Regions from separate parts of the Homo sapiens genome. Here region 2 is linked to region 1. Evidence: promoter capture Hi-C in human tissues and cell types (Jung and others, 2019). All regions are on one chromosome and are shown on one strand. Each heading gives the region's core, a stretch centred on a gene start or on the middle of the fragment in contact. The rest is flanking DNA. Distances are from core to core; before and after follow the strand shown. Region 1 holds the start of SVOPL (SVOP like). Region 2 overlaps SVOPL (SVOP like).

The links. The method cuts DNA at HindIII sites, captures the fragments that hold promoters and counts their contacts. A contact is called where the count stands out against the background at its distance.
Region 2: a contact is called between a fragment that was not itself captured here and the fragment with the promoter of SVOPL in region 1, in 1 of the 25 tissues and cell types used here (spleen).

The regions. Positions count from the first base shown.
Region 1 is chr7:138,698,408-138,703,857 of GRCh38, reverse strand. SVOPL (SVOP like) reads left to right here and starts at 2,496. Exons shown (of 16, transcript NM_001139456.2): 1 at 2,496-2,680. It also overlaps the pseudogene UQCRFS1P2. The HindIII fragment of the contact is 2,573 bases long and covers 993-3,565 here.
Region 2 is chr7:138,666,001-138,671,450 of GRCh38, reverse strand. The region is part of intron 4 of SVOPL (SVOP like); the gene reads left to right. Among named protein-coding and RNA genes, the nearest start is that of SVOPL, 33 kb to the left of the region's middle. RefSeq lists an enhancer at 2,871-3,452. The HindIII fragment of the contact is 8,522 bases long and covers 1-5,450 here.

The sequences.
Region 1 (5,450 bases), core at 1,247-3,746:
TAGACTAAGACAGCATGCAAATGGAGGGATAAGAAATCTACCAATCCCATGCTGCCATGGCCACTGGACGATTTTCAGGTTCTCAGCTCACAAATGTCCTTCTCAACAACTATCTAAAAAGAACCCTGTGCTTAAATGGATCACCAGCCTGTTGATCCTTAAGTCTATTTTTTTTTTAATTTTTATATACCACTGTGTAGTTTTAAATTAGAATTAGGCCAGGCATGGTGGCTCACGCCTGTAATCCCAGCACTTTGGGAGGTCGAGGTGGGTGAATTGCTTGAGGCCAGGATTTTGGGACCAGCCTGGCCAACTGGTGAAACTCCTCATCTACTGAACGTATGAAAATTAGCCAGGCATGGTGGTGTATGCCTGTAATCCCAGCTACTCAGGAGGCTGAGGCAGGAGAATCACTTGAACCCGGGAGGCGGAGGTTGCAGTAAGCCGAGATCACGCCACTGCACTTCAGCCTGGGAGACAGAGCGAGACACCATCTCAAAAAAATAAAAACAAAAAATTTTTTTAAAGTAAAAAATTAGAACTACCTAAAAGACATTGCACCTTTCAAGTGTATGACAGTGTAACAGTGTTTAACAGTTGTTTTATTAAGTGAATGCTTGAACGTATTCAACATTAAATTCAATTTACTTCACAGTAATGTTTGCAAATACATTATCACTTCTTAAATATTTCAAATCAAGCAACTTGAAGTTCAGAAGGCTTGCTCTCAAATAACTCTTCTACAGTGACGCAAAGACTGAAAGGAGCCTACAACTTGAGTCCCAGTCTCTAACCAACAATGACTGTGTCCTCACTGGTGAACCCATATGAGGGAGCTCCAAGCTCAAGAGGGGCAGGCCCCTTCCAGATCCTCCCAGATGCATCTGTGTGACCCCCAGCAAGGGCAGTAATCACCACCAAAATCTTCATTTGCAATAGGTGTACAACAGGATGAATGCAAACGCCTAGTAAAGAAACTCGAATGGGTTACCCTGATAGGCATTGCACTCATTCTTTACTCCTTTTTTATCTTTTTTTTTTTTTTTTCAGACAGAGTCTCACTCTCTCTCCCAGGCTGGAGTGTGCAGTGGCGCGATCTTGGCTCACTGCAACCTCCGCCTCCCAGGTTCAAGCACTTCTCCTGCCTCATTCTCCCGAGTAGCTGGGATTACAGGCATGGACCACCACGCCTGACTAATTTTTGTATTTTTAGTAGAGACGGAGTTTCACCATGTTTGCCAGGCTGGTCTTGAACTCCTGACCTCAAGTGATTCACCCGCCTTGGCCTCCCAAAGTGCTTGGATTACAGGTGTGAGCCACCACTCCCGGCCCATCCTTTACTTCTTCTTCTTCTTCTTTTTTTTTTTTTTTTTTGAGACAGATTCTCACTGTGTTGCCCAGGCTGGAGTGCAATGGTGCAATCTCGGCTCACTGCAACCTCTGCCTCCCAGGTTCAAGTGATTTTCCTGCCTCAGCCTCCCGAGTAGCTGGGATTACAGGCACATGCCACCACGCCTGGCTAATTTTGTATTTTTAGTAGAGATGGGGTTTCGCCATGTTGGCCAGGCTGGTCTTGAGCTCCTGACCTCAAGTGATCTGCCCACCTCGGCCTTCCAAAGTGCTGGAATTACAGGCATGAGCCACTGTGCCTGGCCCTTAAATCATGCTATGGGCCCTCAGCTGGGACTCTTCAACTGCAGGTTCTTGGTCAATTTCCTTCTTGGTTCTGTGGCATACAAACAGGGATTTGCCTCTCCATTTGAAAGCCATGTTCTTGCCTTCTGGAATATCAAATAACTTGATTGCAATTTTCGACACGGCCGACTCATCAGCAGAAGCACTGATGCTGGAAACAAACTGGGAGATGACATTCTTGGCAGCATATGTGACACCCACAGCAGTTGTTGCAGTTACCAAATAGGAGAACCCTTTCCTAGCCTCGCCATCCTCTTTTGAAGACTTTGTCCCATCAAAAATCTCAATGCAACAGTAATCAGGGAAGTCAGGCACATTGATGTCTGTATGGGAATAACGAACAGAAGCAGGGACATTGAGGCCCACAGAGTTGACCCAAGACAGGCTCATGGCCTGGCCACTCAGTGACTCCTGGCATAGCAAAGGCTGCTCTTGTACAGCACAGGCAGCTTCAGGGTGGCAGGCACCATGGCCTATACCAGGGGCTACAGCATGCCTGCCACCCTGCAGGATATGGCTGACAGGATGGGCATGAACCTGCTCCTTAATTCTAAGCAATGGCTGTGAGCAAATGTTTGCAAGGGCAAAGCTTCCCTCTGCCCCTTGCCTAGGTCTTCTCTTTCAGAAATTCTTCCAGCTGTCCTGAGAACAACATAGTAATTTCCTCCAAAGTTCGGCAGCCTCTTTCAGTCTTAACAAGAAATGTAATTTCCCCTTTAAAAGGAGATCAAGTGCAGGCTGCTGAGAAGAGGGTGTGCCCTAGGTGTCATTCACTTGCCCAGAATGCGAAGTTGGCCCTTAAAGAATCCTGATCTGAGACCCGACCTGAAAGGAGAGGATAAGACCAGGGAGCCAGGCGTCTTGGGAACACAAGTCTGGCCACCCCTGAGAAGCCATCTGTGCTCCAATTTCCGTCTAAGACTTGGCCACGGTGAGGGGAGCAAAAGAGCCTGAAATTGGAAGACTGTCCAAGGAATATACAGAGGTGAGAAATTTGTGGGCAACATTGATCTGGACTTATTTTTTCCTGCTGCTGTAGAGGGTGGGGTGGGGCATTGACTGTTAGTTTGTGGCCGAAGGCAAATGGAGCATGAAAATTTCCTTGGATATTGCAAAACAAATTACATCACACATCACACACAAAACTCAGTTTAAAAAAGATCTACTGTGGCCCAATTATTTCTGGTTAAAAAACAATCAGTATAACAAAATACAATAGAATAAAATGTCAATCAGTCCTTTAGAATTTGTTTTAATGAAGCTTGAACTCCATCTGAGTTCAGGGAAAATCCCCAATCTATCAGTTTCTCACCAGGTTTTGTGAAGGTAGGTCATGGATTACTTTCCCATTGTAGCTTTTTAGGAACTTATAGTGAGGGACGCGAAGCATTCTTTTCCATGTTATTCCCTATTTTCCTGAGTTGGTCTAACTGATCATCCATCTGCCATCCATCCATCCATCCATCCATCCATCCATCCATCCTCTTACTGGGTTAGAAAGGATTTAGAATGACACAGGAAACCAGCCGGGTGCGGTGGCTCACGCCTGTAATCCCAGCACTTTGGGAGGCTGAGGTGGGTGGATCACAAGGTCAGGAGTTCAAGACCAGCCTGACCAAGATGGTGAAACCCCGTCTCTACTAAAAATACAAAAAAATTAGCCATGCATGGTGGTGGGTGCCTGTAATCCCAGGTACTCAGGAGGCTGAGGCAGAAGAATCGCTTGAACCCGGGAGGCAGAGGTTGCAGTGAGCCAAGATCACACCACGGCACTCCAGCCTGGGCAACAGAGTAAGACTCTGTCTCAAAAAAAAAAAAAAAAAAAAAGACATACGGAACCAAAGAACAGAGTATGTCAATTCAGCCTTTCCAGCATTCCATTGCTGAGTTAAGATTGCAAGCTCTATCTCTCAATAATGTTCCTCATCTCCATCTCTCAAACATGTTGTTCTCTTCTTTCTTCATGTAGCTTTTGGCTGAAACTCTAGAGACTACCAAGAAAATACATTTCATATATATGCTAACTAACTTTGAGTTTGTGTTTGAGTGTCCTTTTAATGACTTGGAGAGTAAGCCCCTTTCCAAGGTACAGATGTGAACGCTACAATCCTGATAATCTCCTGCCAACAGCCCTGTGCCCTGCAACTTGCTCCACCAAAGGAATCCTGTTGTTGAAAACTCTGTATCCTAATAGGGTGGGAATGAGGACTTTCTCTGTTGCAGGTAAACCTGTACGTTTGTTTCTTCCCCCTCTTGGCAAATTCCCCTGACACCGGGGACCCACCCGGCCCTGATTATCTTCAAGGGCTATGCATTGGGAAGACCAGTGTTACAAGTGACGGGCACTGAACGCTGTTCCGGTGGCGGGGCGAGGGCTGACTTGCTCCTCGGAGCCACACCTCACCACCAGCCCTTTTTTTCCACCCTCACCCCACCCCCTGCACCAACTATGCCTTTGGAAGAACTGAAGTTTGAAAGCTTCTTCTTCCTCTAAAATATATTGATTTTGCAATGTAGAACACAGGAGAATTTTGGTGAAAAGTATCCATTTTGTCGTGCCTCTCATAAGTAAGATGAAGTGACTAGTTTGGAGAGGTTTTGAGGTCTTATTTTCCAGTAGGAAAGTAGCACACTGAGGTCACAATTTCCCAACACCACTCAAGTTTACCCATGAAATAAAATCAACCTAGTTTAGAAAACAAGTGACTTTTTCCTCCCCTCTTTGGGTAATTTTTTATTTGATCCCAGTGTGTTCTAATATTAGCAGAATATTAGCAATAAATGCCTTTTGGAGACATATATGTATTTGGTAACTCTTTAGATACTTTATTTTTGTTTTTATTATTTTTTTATTTTTTGAGATGGAGTTTCGCTGTTGTCGCCCAGGATGGAGTGCAATGGCACAATCTCAGCTCACTGTAACCTCCGCCTCCCAGGTTCAAGAGATTCTCCTGCCTCAGCCTCCCAAGTAGCTGGGACTACACCCGCTACCACACCCAGCTAATTTTTTGGAGACGGAGTTTCACTCTGTCACCTAGGCTGGAGTGCAGTGGCATGATCTCAGCTCACTGCAACCTCCGCCTCCTGGGTTCAAGCAATTCTCCTGCCTCAGCCTCCCGAGTAGTTGGGACTACAGGCATGTGCTACCATATCCAGCTAATTTTTTGTATTTTTAGTAGAGATGAGGTTTCACCGTGTTCCCCAGGCTGGTCCCAAACTCCTGACCTCAGGTGATCCACCCTCCTGGGCCTCCCAAAGTGCTGGGATTACAGGTGTGAGCCACCGCCCCCAGCCTGTACATACGTTAAAACATTTCCTGAGTAAATGCTTTGTGATTATGGTGAATTGTAAAAATTTGTTCGATGGCTTTGCTCAGAGGTGAGAGACAGTACTACCATGAGGACTTTTGATGCAATGGCACATTGACATATTTTATAAACATCATCTAATTTCATTGTCATCACACACTTAAGAGAAAGTTTATCAGTTGAGAATTGCACAAAACTGCAAGTAACAGAGACCAGAAATCACAGTGGCTTGGATCTAAGAGGTGTATTTCTTTCCTTCATACGTGGTGTCTGGAGGTGAGCAGTCCGAGGCTGCGGGAGATCTCTTGGTCCTCGGTTTCCAGGCTGTTCCTGTCTTATGCTGGCCAGATTCGGTCCAAAGTTTCCGTCTTTCAATTTGCATCATGACCTGAGATGCCAGCCAGAGGGCCAGCCACCCTGCCTCTAGTCTAGCGAGGGGGTGTGAGG
Region 2 (5,450 bases), core at 1,974-4,473, 33 kb after region 1:
GCTTGCATCTGGGAGGAGGAGGTTGCAGTGAGCCAAGACCACGCCATTGCGCTCCAGCCTGGGTGACAAGAGTGAAACTCCATCTCAAAAAAGAAAAAATAGCCTTATGAGTTGCACATCAAGTTTTGCTACAAAGTGGAATTGAAGATATCCATTCTTTCAAAAAGGATGTGTGTATGCATGTGTGCTGAGAAGACTACAAGCAGTATCACGTTGTTTAAATAGTGAGAAAGGGGTAGTGATGGGAGGTGAAGCTGCAGAGGTGGGCAGGGCCAGAAGCACCCCACCTGCTGAGCATGAATTGCATTCTATAGCCACTGCTCCCCAACATTGGGCCAAACACATATAAACCCTCCATGCAAAAAATATGTGATACAAATACATATTACAGTTTTTCAGTTTGCCATTTCTTATAACCAAAATCAACATAATAGCATGATTGACTTCATAGTCATTATATATTTCTGATTAAATGGGTATGAAAGTTCACCTTCTATCATAGAGCTTTGCAAAATATTTATTTTTAATCTTAAAAGAGGCTCCTGATATATTAGAATGCTGTGGAGGGTGGAGAGCCATTGGAAGGCTTCAGGGAAGGATGTGGTCAGTTTTCTAAGAACTCCAAGGAGATAAGGCTGCAGGGTAGAAGGTCAATGAGGGTGTAACTGCCCTAGGGTTCATCTTTCCTAGTGCCCCAATAGAGCCAACTTATCAAGTGGAGGAATTGCAATAGAGAACATGTTTAATAGACATAGAGTGGCTAAACCAGAGGCCAGAATTTTATTGTATCAGCCTCCCTGAAAATTTGGAGGCAAGCATTTTTTAAAGATAGTTTGGTTGACAGGGGGCTAGAGAATGGATATTTCTGATTGGTTGGAGATGCAATCATAGTGGTGTAGAAAATGGACCAAGTATGCTGAGTCTGCTTATGGGTCACAGGACCAGTTGAGTCAGGGGTCATGGGTCTGGGTGGAGTCATCCCGTTGTCAAAAATGCAAAAGTCTGAAAAGACTTCTCAAAAAGCCAATCTTAGGTTCTACAATAGTGATGTTATTTACAGGAGTAATTGGGGAAGTCGCAAATCGTGTGACCTACAGAACAAAGGCTGGAAAGTGGCTGGTAATCCTTTAAGCCTATATCTTAACAGAATTCAGGCCCCTCTCATAATCCTACCTGGTGGCCTTTTATTACTTTATAAAGGTGGTTTAGTTTTGGGAAGAGCTGTTATCTAAACTGTAAACTAAATTTCTTCCAAAGTTAGCTTGACCCATGCCCAGGAATGACCAAGGGCAGTTTGGAAGTTAAAGCCAAAATGGATTTGGTTAGGGCAGATCTCTTTCACTGTCATAATTTTTTCTATTATAATTTTTGCAAAGATGGTTTCAAAGGGGCTGTGGTATAAGTGGTAGAGTGAGGGTGTGTGTTCTGGGACATATTTAGGAAGTAACATCAGCCAAGGAGGTCAAAGAACCAGCAGGTGGGGAGAGAAAGGTTGATTTACTTGGGTATTGAAGCTGGTTTTAATGAAGACAGGACTTTGTAAGTGCCAAGGGAAAACTTCCCTTCACCTTCCAAAGGTTTACTAAAAAAATCAACTGACAGAAGGTAGATTCATGGGGAAAAAAGGCATACAAAATTTTATTTTGATGGGCATAGCAGGAAGGAATCACAAGAGTGATTACCAATAACCCAGCTTGGGACAGAAACGTATATAGCCTTTTACACAGTGGAGGATGCCAGTGGGCAAAGATTCTTTAGATGGGCAATAAGTCATAAGTGAGAATGAATGAACCAGGGAGGAGTGAGGCACGCATTACAGGAAGGTGAGGGGTGGAGTTGCACAGGAACAAAGGTTGTTCTGTTATCCAGGTGATCTCTGGGAGCTGCCCTCAGAGGACTAGGTGAAAAGTCTGGAGCAATGTGATACCCCCAGCCTCTTCTCTTTTCTGGTGGCTGATCTTTGTAATTTGACATGATCCCTAGGGAGCAGGTTTAAGATAATTGCGTTCCCTTTTTTTTTGTTGTCATTGTTGTTGTTTTGTTGAAACAGAGTCTCCCTCTTTTGCCCGGGCTGGAGTGTGGTGGTGCGATCATAGCTCACCGCAGCTTTGAACTCCTGGGCTCAAATAATCCTCTTGCCTTAGCTTCCTGAGTAGCTAGGATGTGGGTCACCACACCTGGCTAATTTGAAGAGGCTAGTCTCTACTCCTGGCCTCAAGCAATCCTCCTGCCTAGGCCTCTCAAAGTGTTGGGATCACAAACTGAGTTACCACACCTGGCCCAGTTGCATTCCTTTTGGAACAAAGCTTTCTTGGTCAGATAAGGAAACTGCAGAGAGCCCTTCCCTGTGCTTGAGGGCGAAGGAGCAAGACAAGGTTAGAGGGACCTTGATTCTGATGCAGCTGCCTCTATCCTCTCCACATGTCAAAAGGCCAGTCTTTGTTGTATCGCTTTCTGGGCCCCAACGACTTAATAGAAGAACTGTGAGCCCAGGTGCTCAAAATCCTCACTAAAGAGAGTGTCTGGGAGGTAGGTAGACTGATGGGTGGAGGATGGCAGTCAGGTGGCAGAGGCCTTGAGGTCAAATTCTGTAAGACAGTGAGAGCTAGTCTGAAACTGGTGGTGGAGAATTCCAGAAGAATTCCTCCTGCTCCCCAGACTGACAAGGCTGTGCTCAAAGGAGTAGCCCCGGAAGGTGGCAGGGGAAGGGGATGTCCCTGTCACTCACTGTGTTAACCAAATCTTACCTGTGAATTTTAATCTTTGGGGGTGGCACCAGGGAAAATTCCCTCACTTGAGGAACTGGTTGGAGTTCTTCTCTCAGATAATGCATGGTATTGCCCAGTTGTGTTTCTTTCTGTGTCTTGGAGGCTGGGAAGTTTGGATTCCAGTTGTATGCCCAATCACAGCAGCACATCTAAAAATCTGCCCTGATTTTTGCTAACCCAAATGAGATATTGAGGCAAAAATCTCAGTCATCTGAGGTTTATTGAGCTAGAGCTTGAGGGTGTGACTGGGAAGAATGTAACAGCCCAGCGGGTTCACCTTGCCCGCTGACTAGACAGAGCTGATTTCTCAAGACAGGGGAATTGCAATAGAGAAGGAGTAATTCCCACAGAGCTGGCTGTGTGGGCAACTGGAGTTTTATTGTTATTCAAATCAGTCTCCCTGAGCATTTGGGGAGCAGAGTTTTTAAGGACAACTTGGTGGGTGGGGGAAGGTCAGTGAGTCGAGAGTGCTGATTAGGTGGGTTAGAGATGAAATAGTAGGGAATTGACGCTTTCCTCTTGCGCTGAGTGAGTTCCTGAGTGGGTGCCACAAGATCAGATGAACCAGTTTATTGGTCTGGGTGGTACCAGCTGATCCATCAAGAGCACCATCTGCAAAATATCTCAAGCACTGATCTCAGGAACAGTTTAGGGAGGGTCAGAATCTTGTAACCTCCAGCTGCGTGACTCCTAAACCACAATTTCTAATCTTGTGGCTAATTTGTTAGTCCTACAAAGGCAGTCTAGTCCTAGCCAAGAAGGAGGTTGGTTTTGGGAAAGGGCGGTTATCATCTTTGTTTTAAACTATAAAGTAAGTTACTCCCAAAGCTAGTTCAGCCTACACCCAGGAATGACCAAGGACAGTTTGGAGGTTAGAAGCAAGATGGAGTTGGTTAGGTCAGATCTCTTTCACTGACTCAGTTACAATTTTGCAGTGTCAGTTTCAAGAACACCAGCTATGGAAACATCTGTGGCTTGAAGCAGAGGTTTCCGGGTGACTCAGGATTTATACTCTCTTTTAAAGGAAAGAAAGCATGTAGGAAGAGGTGGGTAGCCAGCCAATGAGGCAAATGGTTACATGTCTGTGAGATTTTAATTAGTGCCCAGTAAATCTACATTTTATATAAAATGAGGTGAACATTGGAAGAAAAAAGGGAGAGTAAAGGAAGCATCAATTATGCAGATGTCTCAGGGCAGGTGGAAGAATGGTCTCATCTTCTGGGAAGAATGAGTCTCATCACTTGGGAAGATGAGCTTGCAATCAACATTATCAGTGTGAAATCTAACAGATGTTAGTTGTAGAAGCTAGACTTAGATAGAAAACCTAAGTTACAATGGACATGTCCTTGCTTTATAGGAGGATATGCATCTTGAAGGGTTTCAAGACCAGCAAAGAATTTTCCATGGGGGGTCTGGCTGATGGATAATACTTTGACATAAGATTGTAAAGCAACAGCTATTCAAGGATGGCTAGTGTTGCATTAGTCTGTCTTCAGGCTTAACCTCCTCTTTGGTGTAATGAGTTTAGGAGTCCCGAGATGTTTTATTTTTCCATTATATTATCTTAGTTCCATCTCCCTCATTAAAACTCCTCTTATTAACTTTGGAGCCCTGGTTCCTTTTTTGCGTTTTTAAAGCTCTCTAGTACTTGTTGTCCCAAAGACCACCAGGATGGCTAAATAATAGAAAGGACAGTTTTATTGGCAATAGTGATTTGCAAGCCTGAAAGAGACAGTCTCCAGTGTGCATTGAAGTTGCTTTCTCTTGGAAGAGGAGAAGGACAGGTTGGGTTTTATGTTTCACAAGGCTGGCATCATACATATTTGGCAGGTTTGGGGGCAAAGCTATACATGTTTGTGAGGGGATCCTACATGCAGACTAGGTAAGCTCGTTTGTAACATACATCACATGTTCACTTTGGGGCAGGGTTTTAGCATTAAAATGAGGTGGAATTTGGCTCTTTATGTCAAAGGTGAACTACAGAAAACAAACAGTTTGTGCACTCTCTGTATAAGCTGCTGAAACTGACCTGAGGTCTGCAGTAGCTTATCCAAAAAGAATGTCTGTAAGGCTGGTCCTCTGTCCAATCAGCACTGTAGTGGTCTGGGTTGTAAATCAGCTTGATATCTCAGACAGGAATTCAGAAATCTGCCATGTCTGCCAGACCCTGAACCCTTGACCTGGAGATAACGTTTGTTTCTTTAACCTTGGGGCCCGTCTTAGTTGCTAAAGGGGTGTCTATTTTGGTGTCTCAGATCATATGCTTTTAGAAAAACTTTTAGAAATAAAACAAAGTTTTTACTTAGACTTGTAATAAAGTGACTCGATTGCTTTCTATTTTCTTCTACATATAAAATACTTTAGAAAGTGTCAACCTAAAATAACAGAGAAGCTCTCCAGAGAAATGAGTTTATTTGGAAAGGAATGATAGGTGATTGCAATCTGGGAATTCCTGTGCCATGGCGAACCGTGGCCGGGCCATAGGTGTATCCAGGAAGGCAAGGAAAGTCGAGAGTTTTTTAAAGACAAAATGAGGAAGGCTACATAAGTTATTTTGAAATACTTTTCCTTGGCTACAAGGATCAGTAACAACGGTGGCATCAGTCCGAGGTAGAACAGGCTGGGTATTGTTCTTGCAGAAGCAGTTTCTTGTTTTTTGTTTTGTTTGTTTTTGAGACAGTG